Regions from separate parts of the Homo sapiens genome. Here all the other regions are linked to region 1. Evidence: promoter capture Hi-C in 16 types of primary human blood cells and fetal thymus (Javierre and others, 2016). All regions are on one chromosome and are shown on one strand. Each heading gives the region's core, a stretch centred on a gene start or on the middle of the fragment in contact. The rest is flanking DNA. Distances are from core to core; before and after follow the strand shown. Region 1 holds the start of LRRCC1 (leucine rich repeat and coiled-coil centrosomal protein 1). Region 2 overlaps RALYL (RALY RNA binding protein like). Region 3 overlaps RALYL (RALY RNA binding protein like). Region 4 overlaps RALYL (RALY RNA binding protein like).

Evidence for each region. Contacts are between HindIII fragments. The CHiCAGO score rates a contact against its expected background, and 5 or more counts as called.
Region 2: a contact is called between a fragment that was not itself captured here and the fragment with the promoter of LRRCC1 in region 1, in 1 of 17 cell types (M0 macrophages). The highest score is 5.5, in M0 macrophages.
Region 3: a contact is called between a fragment that was not itself captured here and the fragment with the promoter of LRRCC1 in region 1, in 1 of 17 cell types (M1 macrophages). The highest score is 5.5, in M1 macrophages.
Region 4: a fragment that was not itself captured here is called in contact with the fragment with the promoter of LRRCC1 in region 1 in 1 of 17 cell types (M0 macrophages); the score reaches 5.2 in M0 macrophages.

Annotation. Positions count from the first base shown.
Region 1 is chr8:85,105,807-85,108,588 of GRCh38, forward strand. It overlaps LRRCC1 (leucine rich repeat and coiled-coil centrosomal protein 1), which reads left to right and starts at 1,432. Exons shown (of 19, transcript NM_033402.5): 1 at 1,432-1,593. The coding sequence starts at 1,490. It overlaps LOC105375933 (a long non-coding RNA gene), which reads right to left and starts at 2,056. Exons shown (of 3, transcript XR_929117.3): 1 at 1,753-2,056. RefSeq lists an enhancer at 1,544-1,603. The HindIII fragment of the contact is 5,185 bases long and covers 1-2,782 here.
Region 2 is chr8:84,621,700-84,624,481 of GRCh38, forward strand. All of the region lies in intron 2 of RALYL (RALY RNA binding protein like), which reads left to right. Among named protein-coding and RNA genes, the nearest start is that of RALYL, 440 kb to the left of the region's middle. The HindIII fragment of the contact is 6,465 bases long and covers 1-2,782 here.
Region 3 is chr8:84,638,205-84,640,986 of GRCh38, forward strand. The region is part of intron 2 of RALYL (RALY RNA binding protein like); the gene reads left to right. Among named protein-coding and RNA genes, the nearest start is that of RALYL, 460 kb to the left of the region's middle. The HindIII fragment of the contact is 2,194 bases long and covers 314-2,507 here.
Region 4 is chr8:84,657,370-84,660,151 of GRCh38, forward strand. The region is part of intron 2 of RALYL (RALY RNA binding protein like); the gene reads left to right. Among named protein-coding and RNA genes, the nearest start is that of LRRCC1, 450 kb to the right of the region's middle. The HindIII fragment of the contact is 1,573 bases long and covers 623-2,195 here.

The DNA.
Region 1 (2,782 bases), core at 182-2,681:
CATCAATGATAGACTGGATAAAGAAAATGTGGCACATATACACCAACATGCAGCCATAAAAAAGAACAAAATCATGTCCTTTGCAGCAATATGGATGCAGCTGAAGGTCATTATCCTAAGTGAATTAACACAGAAACAGAAAACCAAATACCATATGTTCTCACTTCCAAGTGGCAGCTAAACACTGGATACACATGAACACAAAGATGGGAACAATAGACACTGGGGACTCCAAAAGGGGGAAGGCAAGAGTTGAATAACTACCTATCAAGCGCTATATTTACTATTTGGGTTACAGGATCATTAGAAGCCACAACCTCAGCATCGTGCAATATACTTATGTAACAAACCTGCACATGTACCCCCGAATCTAAAATAAAAAGTGAGATGAAATTTTTTTTAAAAGAAAACCTTTTTGCATTGTATCTGTTTGGGAACCTTTGGCCTCCTGTGCCTGGGTGTCTAAATCTCTTGCTAGACTTGGGAAGTTTTCATATAGTATTTTGTTGAACCATTTTTCCAACTCTATTGTTTTCTCTTTGCCTTCTGAGACTCCAAAATTTTGAATATTTGGTCACTTTATGGTGTCCTACATGTCATGTGGGTTTTGCTCATTTTTTAAAACATCTTTTTTATTTTTGTCTATATGAGTTATTTCAAAAGGAAATAGTCCACTTCAAATGGACTACTGCACCATTTGCTCCGTTTTAAAATATTACTATGCCTTAGGAAGCAATCTAGCCAGGAGGGTTATTTGACCTCACACAGGTATTGCTTTCCCACCTGTAATGCCATTCATCCAGAACTCCCCCTAACCCAGCAAGACTCTATTCAGTCATCAATCACTTCTTTTAGAAAACGTACCCACTACCCATATCACTCTAGAGTTGGTTTCGATGCCCTTGTGTTATTCTTAGCATTCGTCATACTGTATGGCAATTCTGTTTCCTCTATGGGGCTGCGAATGTTTCCAGGAACAAGAATAGGCTTCATCTTTTTCTTCCTCATACAGGGAAGTGACTGACATACAGTAAGGCATCCCACAAATTGTTCAATGAATCAACAGGAGGTGCAATGGCCAGAGGAACAATTTATACGTATGTAAGGCTATGTAAAGGCACGTAAAGCCAAACCGCTGTGAAAACCGCCTTCAGAAGTCAGTCGGCTACTAGGCAAATATACAGAAGCACACAGGACAAATCCATTCATTCTCCAGCTCCTACACGCCCGGGAAGCAGTTTTACTTTACAGCAAGTTCAAGAGTCGCACCGCAGATGCTGTAAAAACGAAAGAAGCCCACAGTTGGGACGAGGATTCCAGTTTTGCGTCACCGTCAAGGCGGGAAAGTTCCCGGCTGTCGGTTGGAGGGTGGGTCCTCGCCCCGCCCCGCCCCCTCGGGCCGCCCTTCCGCGCTTCCGGGAGGCTTGTCCCAAGCTCACGGACCCCTCGCTGGGTGCCGGTTAAGACCCCGCTCCCCGTCGCCAGTGCTATGGAGGCGGCGGCGGCGGTGGTGGCGGCAGAGGCGGAAGTGGAAAACGAAGACGGCGACAGCAGCTGCGGGGATGTATGCTTCATGGACAAAGGCTTGCAGAGGTAAAGGGCGCTCCGCAGCCAGGAGCGACCCGCGCACTCCCCAGAGCCGGGGCCACGAGTGGCTGGCGGCGACACCAGAGTGGAGGCGCGGCACTGCTTTACCAAGACCATAAGTGAACGCAGTCTGGCTTTCGGCCTCCCCGCTCCTCCAAAACTTACCTGCCGAAGTGCCAGGTTGAATGAGCCGTGGATGCCTTCCCGCCCGTGTCTCCTGCCCAGCGTTTCACACGACTCTGCTTAGCCTAGAAACTGCCCCAGGACCTTGTCCTCCACCAGCTTCTGACCACTCTTTCCTTCTGCTGGTTTTCCTTACTTACTGGTGGTTATTCCTTTGCTTGCCGTTTAATTGCTGGTTTTCTCGTGTTCTCTCGTCTTTCCTGTTCTTACCTCTGAAAAAAACCTGCAGGATAGTATCTCTGGCAGCTATGAGCGGGCAGTCGCTGCTGCCTGTTAGTTTTGCCTCAGTTCTCCTTGTCTGCATTCGAAATCATTTGTCCGTTACAGAACATTGCAATACATATATTCATATACTTTTTGAAAGTACTAAACTTACTATATTTAGTTCATCGTTTCCCTCTCTCTTGAAGCCCTGACTTGTGCAAAGCATATGAGGCACTTGGTTCTGTAATACTGTAAAGCAGGTCTCCACCTGCATTTCAGGCTCTTTAGTCTCGACCCGTAACATTTCTCCACTTACACTTTATTTACCTGTACTGAGCTACAGGCAATTCCATAGCAGACTTCTCTGTGCCTTTGCACATGCTGTTCCTTTGTAGCGTGTCCTCTACGCGAACTCTGCTACTGATAATTAAGCATCTTGTTCTGGATTCTGATTTAAACTTTGCCAGATGATCCCAAGAAGATGCTGTTCAAGGGACATTTTACATTTCTATTTAATACTAGCTGCCATTTACTGAATGCTATCTGTTGTGTGCATGTTATATACATTATCAGTAATCCTCACAGCAATTCTACAAGGTAGTAATTTTTCTCATTTACAAGTGATGAATGAGACTCAGAATCTATTGACAATTTGTTCATCTTTATACACTTCATGAAGAATTAAGTTCGGATTCAAACCCATTTTCCGTCTAATTTCACTATGCTTTTTCTATCTCACATTATCTGCACATTATTAATGTCGAGAAACTGAAATGTGTCAGAAAGTAAATGACTGTCATTAAGAGCA
Region 2 (2,782 bases), core at 136-2,635, 480 kb before region 1:
TCAAGGTTTCCTATCCTAATGTAGACTTAGGTTAGCTGTAGCCTTGTAGGATTTAAAGAGAGAATAGATTGTAAGAGATGAGTTCTAAATTCAGACAGATTCTCAAGGGCATGATTCTTATGAATATGTATAATGTCAACTCTAGCCTATGTGGATTTCTAGTCCTTTGCAGTGCTAATTTAGCCATTATTTTCAAGCTCTTTTTCTATGAAACCAATTTACTATGACTTTTTGGTAAGGCTTTTATAACATTTGCTAATTACAAGGTGACATCTGCATAATTATTAATTATGAAGTTACATCTGCATAATGAATATTACCAATAATTTAACTTAAATGTTTCAGTTAAAACTTTAAATGCATGGAATTAACCAGAAGTCACAATGAGTTGCTACTGTATCAGTTATAGAATTGAGAAGGAAACAATTCAAGACAAACATAGTAGTGAATGAAAATTTGAGCTTTAACACTGCATGAATGAGAGGAAAGATGAGTTTGATGCCACAAAGAAAAAGGGGTCATACGTGGTAATAACCTGGTAGAGAGTTAAGAGAAAGTCTCATCCCAAAGTATATTTCAGCATGAAGGGCTTGTTAAAATTTATTCTAGGAAGAATATAAAAGTGTTTGCTTTATTGGTAATGTTAAAGAAATCTACACTGTGATTTTCTTTGAGCTCAGAATTCAGCCTCAGATATGAGCATCGTTTACTAGGCCAGGCTATGTTCTAAGTATTTAAAAATTTTGGAATCTTATCTGAGCCACTAAATTTTGAGCAGATTTTACAGAGAGTGGCATCATTTCCTAGAAAAACAGCAGCAACAAATGTGGGGAAAAGAGGGATGTCCTCAGGGTTAGTGTGTCCAGGGATCAGGACAACGCTCCACAGAGTCGAGGGGCATTAGTACATATAATTATTCCAGGGAAGTCTCTCTCAGAGGCCATAAGACCAATTTCTATTTAGTTTCCTTGCTGTCATATGGAAGAGATTGAAGTCTGCTGGCATCAATGAGGTAAGGACTCTGCCATCATAAAGTCCTGTGGATTATGGAAAGCCCATGTAGAAAATAATGGGAAATAAAGGAAACAACAATACTGTTTAATTTGAAAAATAGACATATCTGTGTCTCAAGATGTAAGAATTGACGAGTACACACCAAGTCGTTGTTATCTACGTGGAAAAAAATAGTAAATGTATTTATTATTAGAGGATGTGAAGTTTGGTTGTGACAAATTAAAGACTGCACCTTTTTGAGATAGTCATGTAACATTTTCAGTGACTATCTCTTAAGGCATTGTGCACACCATACTGCTTAAAATTCAAGATCCTTGTGACTGAAAGCCAGTTCTGATTATAATAGACACAATTCTCAATGCTAAGTTCTAACAAATTAAATGTGTCCCTGAATGTGACAGTAAAACTTCTAAGTTTTATTCCATTTTCAAAGATTAGCTCAGTTCCACTTGTCAGCTGGGACATGCTGTTAGATTTGTTGTTTTATTGTATTGTTTAAATGTTCAGTGGGCACAAGTTTTTCATAGGTAAAGAATTAATGTGTCATGTTATCGTGACACATTAATTTTAGATACATCAGTCTAAAAGCATGAAAGTTTATTTTGATCCAGTTCACCGCATAAAATAATCACTACCCATTTTCACTTCAAAGGGCATATCTTGATATGTATAGAAGGATAGTGTTGAAAATAATTGTGTTTATGAAATTAATAAATCTCCAAAGTAGTGGTCCAAAAAATATTTTACCCCTTAGGTCATCCTACTGTCCTGTAAGTTACCAACAGTAAGTAGAATTAAATTTACATACTCTTAATATTGAGATGATTGCTGACCTTGAGAATAATTATTTTAGAGAGGTAGGGAGAGGAAGTTGTCAATTGGGGTGCATTAAGGGGAGAGTATGAGATGAGAACATGAAATGAAAGAATACAAACAGCAATTCGAAGAAGTTTTTCTCTAAATAGGAGCAGGAAAATCATGTGGGAGTTGATGGTGAGGAGGGATGTTGGTACAAATAGTTACCCTTTCACATGATGAGGACTATCACAAATATGCTGTGGGAAAAAAAGAGTGAGAGGAAAAAAAATTTAAAATATCCTTGAGCAAATCAAAGAGCATGGAATCCAAGCCTAAGCAGAAGGATTTGTTTCAACAGGAAGGGACCAATGGCCCCATCATGAACGTGGAAAGTCTGACCATCCTAGGTACATGAGGTTGGTAGGTCTGATAGTGGGAGATGAGATACTTCTCTTTCGACTGGTACTATTGTCTGTGTGAAATAATCACTTGAATAAACAAGTCTTGACAGAAAAGAGTTGAAGTTTTCACTTTGGGTTATTGTTAGTCTTTAGAGATCATCATATTCAACATCCCTCTCTGTCCAGGAATCAGATGAATAGTGCTCAGATATTTTGAACATGGCCATCCAGCAATGAGCAGCTTAGTTTTTCAAGGACAGCCCTTTCTGTGTTTAGACATCACTAATTTTTAGAAAACCTTTTCTTACTGTACTAGTTCTCTACTGCAGCTCTAACAAATTACCACAACTGAGCTGCTAGAAACAACCCAAGTGCATTATCATACAATTCTGTAAGTCAGAAGCCTAACGTGGGTTTTACTGGGCTAAAGTCAAAGTTTCAGTAAGTTTTGTGTTCCTTTTTGGAGGCTATAGGAAAGAATCCTTTTCCTTGTCTTTTCTGATTTTTAAAGGCCATGCACATTCCTTGGCGCATGGCCCCCTTTTTCATCTTCAATGCCAGCACCATTG
Region 3 (2,782 bases), core at 161-2,660, 470 kb before region 1:
ATGTTAATTGGGTCAACAATGAAATCTAGATGGAAATTAAAAAATTCTTTGAACTGAATGATAATAGTGACACAACCTATCAAAACTTCTGGGACACAGCAAGTGTGGTGCTAAGAGCAAATTTCATAGCCTTAAATACCTGCATCAAAGTCTGAAAGAGCACAAATGGACAATCTAAGCTCACACCTGAAAGAACTAGAGAAAGAAGAATAAACCAAACCCAAACCCAGTGGAAGAAAAGAAATAACCAAGATCAGAGAAGAACCAAATGAAATTGAAACAATAAAAAATGCAAAAGATAAATGAAACAAAAAGCTTGTTCTTTGAAATAAATAAATAAAATTGATAGACCATTAACAAGATTAACCAAGAAAAAAGAGAAAGCCAAATAAACTCAATTAGAAACAAAGTAGGAGATTAATAGCAGAAATTTGCTGGAGCATTATGGTGTAGGGAACTAAAAGGTTCTGAGAAAGTCTGTCCTCAACCCTATGCAGTGTACAGTGGCAATAAAATCCTTAGCAACCAAGTTAAACAATGAGCAGAATACCAGTTATATTGTATATGAGAGTCTTATCTGTATTAAGAAGTTAACTAAACTATGTTGTTATGGAGTCCTGAGAAAAGACATCTATAACAGAAATACGAGTATCTAATGCACGCATAAATATATATATATATATATATATATATATATATATATATATATATATATATTCTCTCACAATATAACCCATATATATGTACACACACACACACAGACACACACACACACACACACACACACACACACACACAGATGGGATGGAGACTCAATATTTAATGTATTATATTAGGCCTCATGAGTCAAAAGGTCTTTTTAGGATATAAAGGCATGCAAATGTGCACTTTCTGTAAACTGGGCAGAACTAGTCCATGGTTGGTGGTCTTTTCTCGGGAGAAACTTACTGGAATTAATATTTTATTTAATTAAAGCTACAGTTGCTTGTGCAATAAGGGGCTGTGGGGCAGTTAACTTATTGACTGCTAGAGAAAAAGAAAAAACATATGGCAGTTAGAACATAGAGAAAAAGAAAAACCATATGGCAGTTAGAACATAGTTTATTCTTTAAGTGTAGGAGCCTGTGACTTACCCCTGCCTGGCATGGTCTTAGGTCCTGTTTATAATTTTGTGTTTTGTTACAACAAGCCTTTTCTGTCAACCTTATGATCTCCATTTTAATGTTAATGCTGATCAGTTGTGTCTAAATCAAAAAAAGTGAGGAAAGGTATAGTGAAACTTGTCTGACTCTTTTCTTGCTGTCATGGCCTGAACTGGTTTTTTAGGTTTCTTTGGGATTTCCTTTAGCCAAGATAAGGGGTCCATTCAGTCTGCTGGGGGACTTAGAATTAATTTATTTTTTGTTTATATTCTCCCTTTTTTGTCAAAGTATACCAGAGGCAGTGCTGATGGCCAACCTTCTATTTTGTCCCATATCAATGCTGAGGTGGTGTGATACCTGCCCCTGGTCCATCATACACCTTGGTGGAATCCTTATGGCCAAGGACCTTAGAGTCAAAAGAATTAAAGCCAATTAAATGCTCTAAGCAAGACAGGCATGAAGGTGGGAAGGCACTCATTAATCCTTAAAACCCTTTTAATCAATATAATAGGCAAAATCCAGAAGCCAAAAAATAAGGTCATAAAGTGGACTTATCTATAAATTCTGTGCATTTAGCTACTGTGATGTGATCTTGGCTTGTAGAAATTAGCTGTCCAAAACACAAATAGTTTGTTCAGCTGTTTAGGCATCTGTGTGCCCATCCCTGACTTGGAGGGTCTGAATAAATTTGTATAGCTTTGATAAGCCCCAGCTATAAATGAGAGACTTAATTTAGGATTTGATCTTCAAGATGTTTGTCAAAGATGTTAAAAGGCTCAAAATATATTATTGCAACAGAAACATAGGTCATTGTAAAACAATAGTTACTCATTTAACCCAAGTAATAATCAAAAGACTTTAAAGGCAATACAGGAGGTTACATAGATGTAAAACATTAATTCTTTTAAATATCAGTTTTTTAAGGAATTAAAAACCTAATAAAGAGTATAGGAATTATTTTGATAAAACCTAAAATGTTGTCTCTTAAGCGAGTTATCAGAAAGGCAAAGAAAAACCTGCAATGTGACTGCTTCTTATGGGAAGCCCATTTACATAACCTGAAAATTAAATCTGATGAAAAAGTACTTGAATTTAATCAGACATCAGAAGATTGTGTTAAGATTATGAGTATAGCAGGGGAATATATAATTCTTAGTAACTGCATAAGAAGTTTTCTGATTACATTCAAAAATTTAGACATATCAAGAAAAGCCAAGATGACAAAATCAGGTTATACTGGAGGAAAACATTGCTTTTCTAGACCCTCGAGATAAAATGTTTTCACATCAGGCCACAACAATAGTTACAACTGGAGGAAAAAACTTACAGAAGCTGATGAAAAAGCTGAAGGAAAGAGTCACCTCAAGCTTTCTCAAGGAGAGAAAAAGCTAAAAACAGTGTGACACCACAGAAGCTGAACTTCTGAGGTATGATTCTGAGAAGTTTTCAAAACAGGATATAAAATTAAAAATCAAAATCTGAATTTTATTAAGAGCCAATTAATATCTTAAGAAAATCTCATTATAACACAGGGGACCAATCTTATAAAGACCATTATAACTAGTTCCCTTCTAATTATAGTCAACTGAATTATATACAAAACTTCTTTTATAATTTTTCTTTCATGAACCTTGTCACAG
Region 4 (2,782 bases), core at 159-2,658, 450 kb before region 1:
TTGCAGTTAAAAGAAAGCTTCTCTTCCTTCCCAGAATCCAAGTCTTACTCTCAACCGAAACTGGTTATGGTTTTTTAGAATATTTCTTGTTGGGGCTGACAGAAAGCACTCATGTGCATACCTTTCTCCTCAAACAGTGCATTAGTAAAGGGGCTTTCTAGATATACGTTACCAAGTTCAAAGAGAATAGGAAAGCATCCATCTGCAGATGAATACCTTCAGTAGATTTCTACAAGATAAAACTTTGGTGGAAGAAAGTCGAGTGAAAAAACAAATCAGAGAAAGAACACTCTAATAGAAGTGCAAAGAGGCCACTTGAGGAAGTCTTCTCTAAAACTGGGGGGATAAATCAAGAAAGAAGATGGGAGATCCAGGAAACTGTGGACCTAGCTCTAGATGAGATGTTGCAACAGGGCTACAGAGCTGTCAGTCCTGATTGGAGTAGATTCCACCAAGTCAATCAGTGGGCTGGAGGAGGGAGGATTTCAGGAGATAGTTCACCGTTTGATATAGATTGCTGTCCTTTTACTTTGTTAAGTACACCTATGAGAAACAAAAATGAAATCCTAAGCCTGCCAACTGACTGAATGGATTCTGTCTTGGTCAAGGGGATCTCAGGGAAAGCTTGGAAGTTGAGTTCCCAGCAATAACAGGATGGGAGGTTGGACACCATCTCCCATGTGCAATGAAAGTTTTCATGTCCCTTGCTTCACCTTTTGACACCACAGGGCTGAAAACTGTATCCTCGAATTATGCTAACCCATTTTTGGAACATGGGTCCCATAGAGAGACATGAAACTCAACTGCACATGCCCACATTTCTCTACTTATAAATATTCATGACTCTTCCTATAGTTTATTGAATATGTGTATTTGGCCAGTCTATTCAACATAAATCCCTGTCATATTCTTCTGACCCTCAAAAAGTGTGTTTCTGGCTTCTGGATGGAGGTTACACTTCCTGGCCTCTCAGAATGGCTACGCTGCAGGCTGCAACCTTTATGAAAAGTAAAGCTCTCCTTTCCAAATTTATGAAATTTATCATTCTTCAGTTGATACATCTTTTTAAATTTATGAATTGTATCTCCCTCTTAAAATTAGAAAGGTGTATGCATAGGAAATTGTGGATAAACTCTGTAGTTTTAGAAACAGCAGTAAGTGTGCTGAGGAACAACTGAGTCATCAGTACTAGTGATCCCATAGAACACGGTTCCAACAGTTTGTGTAAGATGATGGATAGACAGATAGCCTGAGTGGAAAACTGACAATCCAGAGCTGATGGTCTCTCTGCTTGGAGATGAAGCCTCTTCGTATATGAGCTTACACTTATAAAAAGATATAAATAAGGAAAAGTGAAGTAAAAGAAAAACCCATGTTGATACTCTGTGGCTAGAATTTGTCATATATGGTGTTGAGAGAAGAGGGGACGTATTGAAAGAGGAATTGGGGTAGGGAAAAAGGAGGGAACTACATCTCAGTCTCATATTAAGCCAAATTCTCCTTTTGCCTTTTGTCTCAGTTTGCGGCTGGATATGGCTGCCGTGAAAACACAAGGGCTCTCTAATAGAAAACAAAACAAAACAAAACAAAAAACTGAAAGGAGCATTGCTAAGTTGACTCTGACTTGTTTCCAGGGAAGACAGCTTACTACAAGTGGGATAGATTTTTCTTCAGTGCTAGTGGTTTCAGGCTGTATAGGCATAATGTTTAATGGCATATTTCCAGGTTACTGACCAAGGAGCTAGTTAGACTAAAACAGCATTGTTGCAGAGTGGATTCTCCAGGAAACAGACACTGAGATGGAAATAAGATTGTAGAATGTTTATTAGAAACTGTGTAGAGATCAACACCTTTTAAAAAGGGGTGTGGGGAAGCAGCATCAGGCAGAGAGAGAAGTGGAACTGTGATGTGGCATCAACACCTTAAGCTGTTGATCAACAGCTTAAGCTGACCCAGAGGAAGTTCTGGAGTTGATAGGGTCTGGCTGCGGTGTTCCCCATTAGGCCAAATGTGAGAGAGCCATTGTACCCCTCCCTGGATCAGACATCAGATGAGGGCCACCCCTGAAGAGTGAGCCTTTGGTCAATGGAAGGCAATCAGAAAAGGCTGTTTGATAAAGAAAGGTAGCTTGTTGCAGCACTAAAAGCTGCTGAGGCCCGCTCTTCCTTAAAGGGGACCTAAGCAGTTTAATAATAAGCTTAAGATATCAGAAGAACTTGACAAAGATGCAGCAAATACAAGAAAATAAAAGAAAGGCTATAAAATATGTGATAGTGGACTAGGAGTAGGTGGAGGCTCAGGGCAAACTGCTAGAAAGGAAATATGATCATGTGGCTTTACCTAGTCACAATAATATAAATATCATGTATTGCTTTTGCCATTTATATTCAACCTGTTGAAATTTGGAAGATTTGTGACTACAAGGCTATAAATGAATGCATATGATCCCCATATTAATCAAAATTTAAAATTATAGATAACCGATATTTTGAAGTTGAAGATGAAAAGGAGTGAAAAAGAGTAGGATTACTAATATCATTAAAAGATAAAGTTAGAAATCAGTAAATACTGTCTATATGAATAGGACAAGAAATAGAGGTTTAAGTATATTATTCTGATTTACAATGATTACCAATAGGGAGAGAATAATAGAATAACACTTTGAAGAATAGTAGAAGTATCTATTCCACGAATATTTGGTAGGTGGTTACATTTGAAGTGATATAGGCATGGCACTTTACAATTTTCTCAATTTATTCTACTACAGTTGGCCTGTTTGGAT